2 separate regions of the Homo sapiens genome follow, and region 1 is linked to region 2. Evidence: promoter capture Hi-C in 16 types of primary human blood cells and fetal thymus (Javierre and others, 2016). All regions are on one chromosome and are shown on one strand. The core of a region is centred on a gene start or on the middle of the fragment in contact, and the rest is flanking DNA. Distances in the headings are between cores, read along the strand shown. Region 1 overlaps EMC3 (ER membrane protein complex subunit 3). Region 2 holds the start of RPUSD3 (RNA pseudouridine synthase D3).

Region 1 (5,789 bases), core at 776-3,275, 130 kb before region 2:
ATTAAAAAGCTCCACGATTCACTGTTGGGCAGTAGATATCTGAATGTTTTATAAGGGGGCTCTGGGGAAAGCTAAAGGTTGGCAACTTAGTAATTAAGCTGTGGCCTGGTGGTGTTTGCTCTCATGGTGACCTCACCCTTCTTAGGAAATTGTTTTTAAATGTGACTCAGCTAAAGTGTCAGGTCGCCTGCCAAGTAGGCTGACAGCTCTGAGCGGAACAGCATATCCTAAAGGCCTTCTGACTAAGCCACTGGGGAGTAATTTAACAGTTTGCTGTGTCATAGTTCTTAGACTTAAAACACTTTTTTTTTTTTTTACTAGTCTTTCTTGACACGAAAATATTATTTCAACAACCCAGAGGATGGATTTTTCAAAAAAACTAAACGGAAGGTAGTGCCACCTTCTCCTATGACTGGTATGTTTGTTCCCTTCACTCATCTTTAAGGAAGATTTTTAACATGGGTATTTGAGTGGGGTGGGGTAGGCAGGGAGGGTGTCATTTTATTTAAATGTTAAATTGCAAAAGATAGTAATCTTAGACCTTAGAAATCATCTGATACAGGGATCTATGGAAGTGGAATTCTCTTTTTCAGTTAGATTTTCTGAGAACCCCAATGTATAAAGTGGATTAAAAAAAATAGTTCTCAGCTGATGGAGTGGGGAGGCCAGAGCTATTGTCCCTGGGTCTCTCCTTATTGCTGTTCTCAGGACCCAGGATTCTAGGGAGCACAGTTGGTAAAGCATTCCAGCCTGGCTGTCACCCAGTGCCTGGATCCCCTTCCAATAGATGGCTGCCCAGCTTCTGCCTAAATGAGGAAGAGTGCAGTACTTCCAAGATGTGCCATTTTGTTGACTTTGTTGTTAGACGTGATTGTTTGGTCTACCCTACAGTTTTGGCTCTAACATTTTCTACTTCCACTGATACCAGTCATGTGAAAAATATAGCATGTTAAAAGTAAAACAGGCCAGGTGTGGTGGCTCACGCCTATAATCCTTGCATTTTGGGAGGCTGAGTCAGGTGGATTGATTGCCTGAGGTCAGGAGTTCAAACCAGCCTGGTTTACATGATGAAACCCCGTCTCTACTAAAAATACAAAAATTAGCCTAGCGTGGTGGTGGGTGCCTGTAGTCCCAGCTACCCCGGAGGCTGAGGCAGGAAATTGCTTGAACCTGGGAGGTGGAGGTTGCAGTGAGCTGAGGTCACGTCACTGCACTCCAGCCTGGGCGACAGAGCAAGACTCCATCTCCGAAAAATAAAAATAAAAATAACTAAAAGTAAAACAAAGTAATTTGTTGTTCTGTGTTGACTCCTCTCATTTTAGTACTATTCACTTCTTTAGGTGAGATAACCAGCTATTTTAAACCCATACGGAAGGTATTATAATTAATTTTTTTTGAGAGTGACTAAGGTTGTATGGAGTTAATTTTTTAACAAATTTTTAAGAAAATTTACAAGAAACAAAAGACCATTAAATATATGAAAAGTTACTTGACCTCACTAATAATCCATGGAATATCAATTAAAACAAGATATCTTTTTTTTTTTTTTTTTTTTTCTTCAGAAAGGAGTCTCGCTCTCTCACCCAGGCTGGAGTGCAGTGGTGCGATCTCGGCTCACTGCAGGCTCCGCCTCCCGGGTTCACGCGATTCTCCTGCCTCAGCCTCCAGAGTAGCTGAGATTACAGGCACCTGCCACCATGCCCGGCTAATTTTTTGTATTTTTAATAGAGACGGGGTTTCATTGTGTTAGCCAGGATGGTCTCCATCTCCTGACCTCGTGATCCGCCCGCCTTGGCCTCCCAAAGTGCTGGGATTACAGGTGTGAGCCACCGTGCCTGGCCAAGATATCTCTTTTTTTTTTTTTTAGCCCAGTAAGCTGTCAAAAGATTGAAAAGATTGTCAGGATCCACTATTGTCAAGGTCGAGGAAGTTAGGCTCCCTCACCATTGGCGGGAGTGGCAAGAGGTGGGGCCTTGCTGACAGTCTGACAATATCTATCAATTTTAAATGTACAAATCCTTGGACCTAGAAATTCTAAGAAATTCTCTTACGGAAACACATAAACATGCAGATGTATGTGCAAGATAATTGTCGGCAGCATCATTTATCGTTTATTGGCAAAAACAATGGAAACAATCGATAGGTCTACTCAAAAGTGATTGGTGTGACCACACCATGGAATCCTATGCAGACATTAAAAATATTGAGACTGGGTACGGTGGCTGACGCCTGTAATCCCAGCACTTTGGGAGACCGAGGCAGGCAGATCACTTGAGGTCAGTCACGAGTTCAAGACCAGCCTGGCCGACATGGTGAAACCCCGTCTCTACTGAAAATACAAAAATTAGCTGGGCATTGTAGTGTGTGCCTGTAATCCCAGCTACTTAGGAGGCTGAGGCAAGAGAATCACTTGAACCTGGGAGGCGGAGGTTGCAGTGAGCTGAGATCATGCCACTGCACTCCAGCCTGGGCGATAGAGTGAGACTCCATCTCAAAAAAAAAAAAAAAAAAAAACGCTGGGTGCGGTGGCTCCCGCCTGTAATCCCAGCACTTTGGGAGGCCGAAGCAGGCGGATCACGAGTTCAGGAGATCAAGACCATCCTGGCTGACACGGTGAAACCCCGTCTCTACTAAAAATACAAAAAATTAGCCAGGCGTGGTGGCAGGCACCTGTAGTCCCATCTACTCGGGAGGCTGAGGCAGGAGAATGGTGTGAACCTGGGAGGCGGAGCTTGCAGTGAGCTGAGATCGCACCACTGCACTCCAGCCTGGGCGACAGAGCGGGACTCCGTCTCAAAAAAAAACAGTTTACAGAAAATCAGGAGAAAGTCCCTGGCAACAGAGGTAAAACTTAGTGGTTTCTTGTTTGTGCTTTTGTCTTAGATCCTACTATGTTGACAGACATGATGAAAGGGAATGTAACAAATGTCCTCCCTATGATTCTTATTGGTGGATGGATCAACATGACATTCTCAGGCTTTGTCACAAGTAAGTTACAGACCCAGCCGACTTCATGTTACCCAGAGAAATTCAAGTGCTAGTGAGACACTAATATCACAGGTCCTGTGTTTTCTTTTGTAAACTGATAATAGTCCTTGAACAAAAAATTTAATATGTGATGACTTTTACGGCTTTTGCCCAAAAATGATCCTAAGTTCATGACGTGGATGCTTTTTAGCCAGATTAGATTCAAGCAAGTGACTTGCTAGCTTACTTCCAAAACTAATACGGTATTCTCGTTGAGCAGGATAAAGGGAAGCGTATTTCTATTTTGACTTCATTTGCTAGATGTTAGGGTGAGTTTTCTGTTTGTTTGTAAGTTGATTCGCTTTTAATCAATTTGGTTTCTTATTAACATAATTCTATGCTTATATATTCCACTTAGAGTTTGACAGTTTGCTGCAAGTTTTTTCCAAATTTCAGGTCACAGCTCAGTTTGAGTCCCTGCTTCCTCAGTAAGCTAGAGGCAGATATTATTCAGGGAAACTAGAGCAGAGTGGCATTTTGACTGTCTTTTCTTCAGAAATTGCCACAGATTTCCTTGTGGAAGTCGTTTTCCAAAAGCTATGTGGCACAGAGTTCCCACCTCCTCTGAGAAAGAGTCACACTTATTCTAAAAATAAAACAGCTCAGAGTGATTGTGAACTTTTTCTTCTCTGCAGCCAAGGTCCCATTTCCACTGACCCTCCGTTTTAAGCCTATGTTACAGCAAGGAATCGAGCTACTCACATTAGATGCATCCTGGTAAGAACTTTCTTTTGTTTAATAAAAACACAAACCACACTTTGGGAAGCCAAGGCGGGAGGATCACTTGAGCCCATGAGTTTGAGACCAGCCTGGGCAACAGAGTAAGACCCTGTCTCAAGAAAACGAAAACAGGCCGGGCGCAGTGGCTCACGACTGTAATCCCAGCACTTTGGGAGGCCGAGGTGGGCAGATGATGAGATCAGGAGATCGAGACCATTCTGGCTAACACTGTGAAACCCCGTCTGTACTAAAAATACAAAAACTTAGCCAGGCGTGGTGGCGGGCGCCTGTAGTCCCAGCTTCTCGGGAGGCTGAGGCAGGAGAATTGCATGAACCCAGGAGGCGGAGCTTGCAGTGAGCTGAGATTGCGCCACTGCACTCCAGCCTGGGCGACAGAGCGAGACTCTGTCTGAAAACAAACAAACAAACAAACAAAAAACGAAAACAAAAACCTCACAAACCAAAATCTAAAACCAGTGTCCCTTAAAGATGAGGATTTCTGGCTGGGTGCGGTGGCTCACACCTGTAATCCTGCACTTTGGGAGGCCGAGGCGGGCGGATCACCAGGTCAGATTGAGACCATCCTGGCTAACACTGTGAAACCCCATCTCTACTAAAAATACAAAAAGTTAGCTGGGCGTGGTGATGGGTGCCTGTAGTCCCAGCTACTCAGGAGGCTGAGGCAGGAGAATGGCATGAACCCAGGAGGCGGAGCTTGCAGTGAGCTGAGATGGCGCTGCTGCACTCCAGCCTGGGCGACAGAGTGAGACTCCATCTCAAAAAAAAAAAAAAGATGAGGATTTCTAATTTGCAATACTTCATTGGAATCAGTTTTTAAAGTTTTTTGGGTTTTTTTTTTCAAGACGGAGTCTCACTCTGTCACCCAGCTTGGAGTGCAGCGGTGCGATATCACTGCAACCTCCACCTCCTAGGTTCAAGCGATTCTCCTGCCTCAGCCTCCCGAGTACTTGGATTACAGGTGTGCACCACCACATCCGGGTAATTTTTTTATTTTTCATGGAGACAGGGTTTCACCATGTTGGCCAGGCTGGTCTCGAACTACTGACCTCAAGTTATCCACCTGCCTCAGCCTCCCATAGTGCTGGGATTACAGGCATGAGCCACCACGCCTGGCCAGAGTTTTTTTTTTTTTTTTTTTTTTCATTGAAACTCCACTGAAAATGCCATGGGTGGTTTATGGCAACTTTTACATGAGTCTAGCAAAAGGAAAGAATGTGTCACCTCTTTTCTATCACAATTGGGGGCTTAAGAATGCAGGGGTGGATGTATCAACCCCCAGAAAGTTACAAGTTTAAGCCAGGAATTCTGGCCAGGCAATCATTTTTAGTAATACCCTTGAGCTTATGGGAGTGGAAGTTTGTATTTTTTTTTTTCCAAAGTACATTACTACTAATGATAATAGTTTTCATTAGTTCTAGTCACTGGGCTTAGCGTTTTCCATATTTTACCCTCATAGCAACCTATGAAACCTGTGTAGGAATTGACATTTGATGACAAGGTCTGTTCAAATCCAGCACCCATGTGTTACTTACCACTCTTTATAATTTTTTAAAAGAGATTTCTCCTTCTGAATACCACTATTTTTTTTTGAATGGCAGAATAAGAAAAATTAAAATCTGAAAAGCTCTTAGAAAATACTGCTACAATATCTGGAACCTAGTAATGCTGCTTCATGTAGCCTCTCCAGACTCTTGCCTGTGGCTTCCCAAAGACTGGCATAAACAAGAGGAAAAGAAAAATGGACAAAATGGGGATTACTAGTGGTAATCTTGACTACTTGGTTTGAGCAGAGCCCTCTAGGATGTGTGGGAGGAGCAGGAAAGGCCAGAGGCTGGGAAGGCTGGGCCATGCACAGTTCTGCTAGAGAAGAAAAGCTGTACATTATATGAGTAGCATGAGTCTATTCTACTTTTACCTTCAGTCTCATTGGGCTAAACAAAAACTTCATGGGTTGGAGAAAAGCTTATTTATCTTTTCTCAGCATCCAGAGAGGCATGTGACTGAAATGCAGTCATGGACAG
Region 2 (5,423 bases), core at 910-3,409:
ACCCTGCCTTCCTCATAGGGGTGTGTAATGCTGGATGAAAAAGCCTATTAGAAAGTGTCCGTCAAAGGCCGGGCACGGTGGCTCACACCTGTAATCCCAACACTTTGGGAGGCTGAGGCAGGTGGATCACCTGAGGTCGGGAGTTTGAGACCAGCCTGGTCAACATGGTGAAACCCCATCTCTACTAAAAAATACAAAAAATTAGGCAGGTATGATGGTGCATGCCTGTAGTATCAGCTACTTGGGAGGCTGGGGCAGGAGAATTGCTTGAACCCAGGAGGCAGAGGTTGCAGTGAGCCAAGATCGTGCCACTGAACTCCAGCCCGGGTGACAGAGTGAGACTCCATCTCGAAGGAAAAAAAAAAAGAAGTGTCTGTCAAAGGCCCCGTGCGGCCTTTAATCCCAGCACTCTGGGAGGCCGAAGTAGGTGGGTGAATCCCTTAAACCCAGGAGTTTGATTTTTTAAAAATTATTTTGTTATTTTTATTTTCTTATCTTGAGCCCAGGAGTTTGAGACCAGCCTGGGCAACATCGTGAGACCCCATATCTTTAAAAAAAAAAAAAAAAAAAAAAAAAGCTAGGTATGGTGGTGCACACCTGTAGTCCCAGCTATTCAGGAGACTGAAGTGGGAGGATCGTTTGAGCCTGGGAGGTTGAGGCTGCAGTGAGCTGTGATTGTGCCACTGCACTCCAGCCTGGATGACAGAGCAAGCAAAAAAACACATTAGTGGCCGGGCACAGTGGCTCACGTCTGTAATCCTAGCACTTTGGGAGGCCAAGGCGGGCGGATTGCCTGAGCTCAGGAGTTCGAGACCAGCCTGGGCGACATGGTGAAACCCCGTCACTAAAATACAAAAAATTAGCCGGGTGTGGTGGCGGGCACCGCACCTGTAATTCCAGCTACTCAGGAGGCAAAGGCAGGGGAATCGCTTGAACCCGGGAGGTGGAAGTTGCAGTGAGTCGAGATCGGGCCACTGCACTCTAGCCTGGGTGACAGAGCGAGACTCTGTCTCCAAAAAACAAAAACCAAAACACATTAGGAAAATGTTCACACCAAACTCAAAGTGGAGACTGGGGAGGGAGTGAAAACTGGAAGCACGCAGTAAAGGGGAATTTACTTTTATCCCTTTCATTTCTTAAACAAGAAAAACAGGAAACCTATACATATATATATTGTTTCACAATGACTAATTCTGATGGTAGGAATGTGGGCAGTCATTATATTATTCTTTTTTTTCTGTGTTCTTCTACTTTCTTTTTCTTTTTTCTTTTTTTTTTTTTTTTGAGACGGAGTCTCGCTCGTCGCCCAGGCTGGAGTGCAGTGGCACGATCTCGGCTCACTGCAAACTCCGCCTCCCGGGTTCACGCCATTCTCCTGCCTCAGCCTCCCGAGTAGCTGGGACTACAGGCGCCCGCCACCACGCCCGGCTAATTTTTTTGTATTTTTGGTGGAGACGTGGTTTCACCGTGTTAGCCAGGATGGTCTCGATCTCCTGACTTCGAGGGGCCACAGGACTAGTAGAGCCAAGAGTTGAGGGTCCGGGTGGGGTGATCCGGCCGTCAGAAATGCAAAAGCCTGGAAAGACATCTCCAAAGGCCAATCTCAGGTTGGACAATCGTGAGCTGGGGAAGCTGCAAACACTGTGACCTCCGGAATAACCGCTGGTAATCAGTTACCTCTAACCCTTAGCAGAATTCAGGTCCCTCTACTACTCCTAACCTGGTGGCCTTTCATTAACTCTATGAAGCCAGTTTAGTTCGGGGGAAGGGCAATTATCATTTAGACTACGAACTAATTTCTCCCAAAGTTAGCTTGGCCCAAGCCCAGGAATGACCAAGGACCGTTTAGAGGTTAAAGGCAAGCTGCGGGTTGGTTAGATCAGATCTCTTTCGCTGTCATAATTTTGTAATATAATTTTTGCAAAGGCGGCTTCAGGTTTTTTGCTAAGACAGGTTTTTTGATCAGATCAAATTCTTCTGCTACAGCGCTCTCCCTAAAAGCATAGGAAGGCATTTCTGCATTTCCTTCCTGGGCGGAGGAAAAGCCCCGCCTCCTCAGGCTCTGAGTCCCGCCCGGTCACCATTCCGATTGACACTCCAGCTGACCAATCAGCGCGCTGGCTGGAGCGCGGGTCTGCCCCTCTGGACGCACATGCGCGCTGTCCTGGCTCGGGAGATGGACGGCCGCCGTGTTTTGGGCCGGTTCTGGAGTGGCTGGCGGCGGGGCCTGGGTGTCCGCCCAGTGCCCGAGGACGCAGGCTTTGGCACCGAAGCCCGGTGATTAAGTACCCCCTCTCTCATGCGGGACGGAGGCTAGGGCAGGGGGAAGGCACGTGCGGGATCTGGATCAGGTAGATGTTACCCGAAAACAGCCCCGTTGGCCTCTCTGAGCCTCGGTGCCCTCCGCTGTAGAATGGGACCGGTCGTACCTGAATTTTCGAGGTCAGCCCAGACATTGTGAGGCATTTGTCAGAGGCCGCAGGATTTGGGAAGAGGCGTCCGGAGATAGGAATGGGTGGCACCTCGGGATGGAATGACTCCCATTGCTTCTCCCTCCTTGTCCAGGCATCAGAGGCAACCCCGCGGCTCCTGCCAACGGTCGGGGCCCCTCGGGGACCAGCCCTTCGCGGGGCTGCTGCCAAAAAACCTCAGTCGGGAGGAGCTGGTTGATGCGCTGCGGGCAGCCGTGGTGGACCGGAAAGGTGAGGGGTGAGAGGCACGGCCGCACAAGGACCGGGAGGGGACTGCCTCGGCGTGCAGTTGGGCTCTCCATTGAAGCCACGGGATCAGCCCTGCTTCTGCCTCCCACTAGCAGCATGAGCTGGGACAAGCCACCTAATTTGCACCCTCTCCCCGCTTTTAACCCTACTGCCATGATGCAGTAGGGTTAAGAGTGGGGAGAAGATGCAAATAACTACCGAGCCTTGCACATAGCCGGCGCTCAGTTACGGGAGTTGCTATACTAGATTATTGTTTATTGGCCGCGGTGGCTCACGCCTGTAATCCCGGCACTTTAGGGTGCTGACGCGGGCGGATCACCTGAGGTCAGGAGTTCGAGACTAGCCTGGCCAACATGGTGAAACCCCGTCTCTACTAAAAACACAAAAATTAGCCAGGTGTGGCGGCGTCCGCCTGTAATCCCAGCTACTCGGGAGGCTGAGGCAGGAGAGTCACTTGAACCCGGATAGCAGAGGTTGCAGTGAGCCGACATCGTGCTACTGCGCTCCAGCCTGGGATGACAGAGCAAGACTCAGTCTAAATAAATAAATAAATAAATAATGATTATTTATCGACGGACAAAACACAGGCTTTGGAGTCAGACATACCTAGGCTCTGTGATCAGCTTGCTGTGCGGCTTTAGGAAAATAACTGAATTTCTCTGAACCCCACTCTCTATTCAGTGATTTATTCCTTTTCTCAACTATTTCTTGAACATATGCTATGTTCCAGGCACTGTTCTAGGCAGGCTATACAGTGCTGAAAAAGATAGATATGGTTTCTGCTCTCAGGGGAGAAATGGATTTCTCTCTAACGGGAGAAATGGATGTCAGAAAATAAATGAACAAGTTACTAGTGGTAAGTGCTATGCATAAACTAAAACAGGGTGTTATGATGGTGAGGAACTGCAGGAGGAAGGCAGACATTAGATTGGAGATTCAGACCTCTCCGTGATGTGACATTTGAGCCAAGATGATAGGGAGCCAGACCTGGGAAATTTGGGGACAGGAAACAGCAAGTGCCGAGGCTCTGAGGTGGCAGAGGAACAGAAAGAAGTTGAATTTGGTGTGGGGTAGTTAACTCATGTCTGAGAGTCATGATGGGGACATGTGCTAAGATGCGTGAGAAAGTGCTCTGGAAACTCTTTAGTGCTGCATAAAGGGTTACCGTTGCTTTTGCTGATGTTCGTGTGATGTATGTTTCAGGACCTCTAGTGACGTTGAACAAGCCACAGGGTCTACCAGTGACAGGTATGGGCCGGGGATGTGGGAAGGGAATGCAGCGGAAGGGGGTTTCGTGACTGAGGGAGGGAAAAGTGAAGGCATGAAGCTTTGGCCTCTTGTAATTTTTCTTTCTTACTTTCCAGGAAAACCAGGAGAGCTGACGTTGTTCTCAGTGCTGCCAGAGCTGAGCCAGTCCCTAGGGCTCAGGGAGCAGGAGCTTCAGGTTGTCCGAGCATCTGGGAAGTAAGTGGTAGGGGTGACAGGAAGCTAGGAGTACAGGCATCCATCTGTGGTGGGGAAACAGCTGCTTGGGGATAAGCTGAGACATTTTCCATGGGAAGGTTTGAGATCATAGAGGTGGATACAAGTACTGTGAAGAAGAGGAAGCCGATGGCTCTGGGTTCAAATCCTCAAGTACAAATGGTGTGATACCAGGCAAAGCATGACACCTCCCTGACGCTGGGCACAGTGACTCACACCTGTAATCCCAACACTTCTGGAGGCCAAGGCAAGAGGATCACTTGAGCCCAGGAGTTCGAGACCAGCCTGGGCAAAATAGACCCCATCTCTGGAAAAACAACAACAAAACTTTCCGCGTGGTGGCTCATGCCTATAATCAATAGGACTTTGGGAGGCCGAGGTGGGAGGATTGCTTGAGTCCAGAAGTTCAAGACCAGCCTGGGCAACATGGCAAAACCCTATCTTTACTTAAAAAACAAAATAAAACACACACACACACACACACAAAAACCTAGCTGGGCAGAGCAGCACATGCCTGTAGTGCTCGGGTGGCTGAGATGGGAGAATCACCTGAGCTCAGAAGATGGCAGCTGCAATAAGCTGAGATCCCGCCACTGTACGCAAGCCTAAACAACCTGAATGAGACCCCGTCTCAAAAAAACAAAACAAAACAAATACCCTCCCTGAGCTTCAGTTCCCCTAATGGTAAAATAGAGAAAATAATACCTATGCTCAGTGTGCAGTCATTTCTCCATGACGGTACTCGTGGCAGGCATTGCTAGTCGATCCATGATACTCTTTCCTCTAACTGCCATCAATTAAAGATGGTACTTGAGATGAAATATTTCTGCAGTTCCACAAACTCATGAGCTTTTTTGTAGAGAACTTATTTAAGAGCTAATATGTACAGAATTTCTAGTAGAATTCTGGCACATGGTAGACAATCGTTACGACATTTGGCTCTGAGTTCCCTGGGGGCCGGGGCAAAATGAGAAACACATTAAGCTACATAGTCTTGTTATCAAAGAAGGGGAAACCTTACTTGTTTCTCAGGAGTTGGTCTAGGTTATAGTCCTGGTGTTAGTGTTTGGCCTGAAGCAGGTCAGTGTTCCTAAGAGTTTCCTTTTTAGTGGGCGAGTTCAAGGGACTTTAACTTGTGTGATTTGTCTGCTTATTCCAGAGAAAGCTCTGGGCTTGTACTCCTCTCCAGCTGTCCCCAGACAGCTAGTCGCCTCCAGAAGT

Evidence for each region. Contacts are between HindIII fragments. The CHiCAGO score rates a contact against its expected background, and 5 or more counts as called.
Region 1: a fragment that was not itself captured here is called in contact with the fragment with the promoter of RPUSD3 in region 2 in 4 of 17 cell types (activated CD4 T cells, monocytes, neutrophils and 1 more); the score reaches 6.4 in activated CD4 T cells.

The regions. Positions count from the first base shown.
Region 1 is chr3:9,971,583-9,977,371 of GRCh38, reverse strand. It overlaps EMC3 (ER membrane protein complex subunit 3), which reads left to right. Exons shown (of 8, transcript NM_001394674.1): 3 at 322-415; 4 at 2,884-2,988; 5 at 3,663-3,744. Among named protein-coding and RNA genes, the nearest start is that of EMC3, 12 kb to the left of the region's middle. RefSeq lists an enhancer at 1-943. The HindIII fragment of the contact is 7,414 bases long and covers 1-5,732 here.
Region 2 is chr3:9,840,744-9,846,166 of GRCh38, reverse strand. RPUSD3 (RNA pseudouridine synthase D3) reads left to right here and starts at 2,159. Exons shown (of 9, transcript NM_173659.5): 1 at 2,159-2,277; 2 at 2,566-2,702; 3 at 3,924-3,968; 4 at 4,085-4,184; 5 at 5,362-5,423. The coding sequence starts at 2,177. RefSeq lists an enhancer at 2,217-2,296. The HindIII fragment of the contact is 7,859 bases long and covers 1-4,049 here.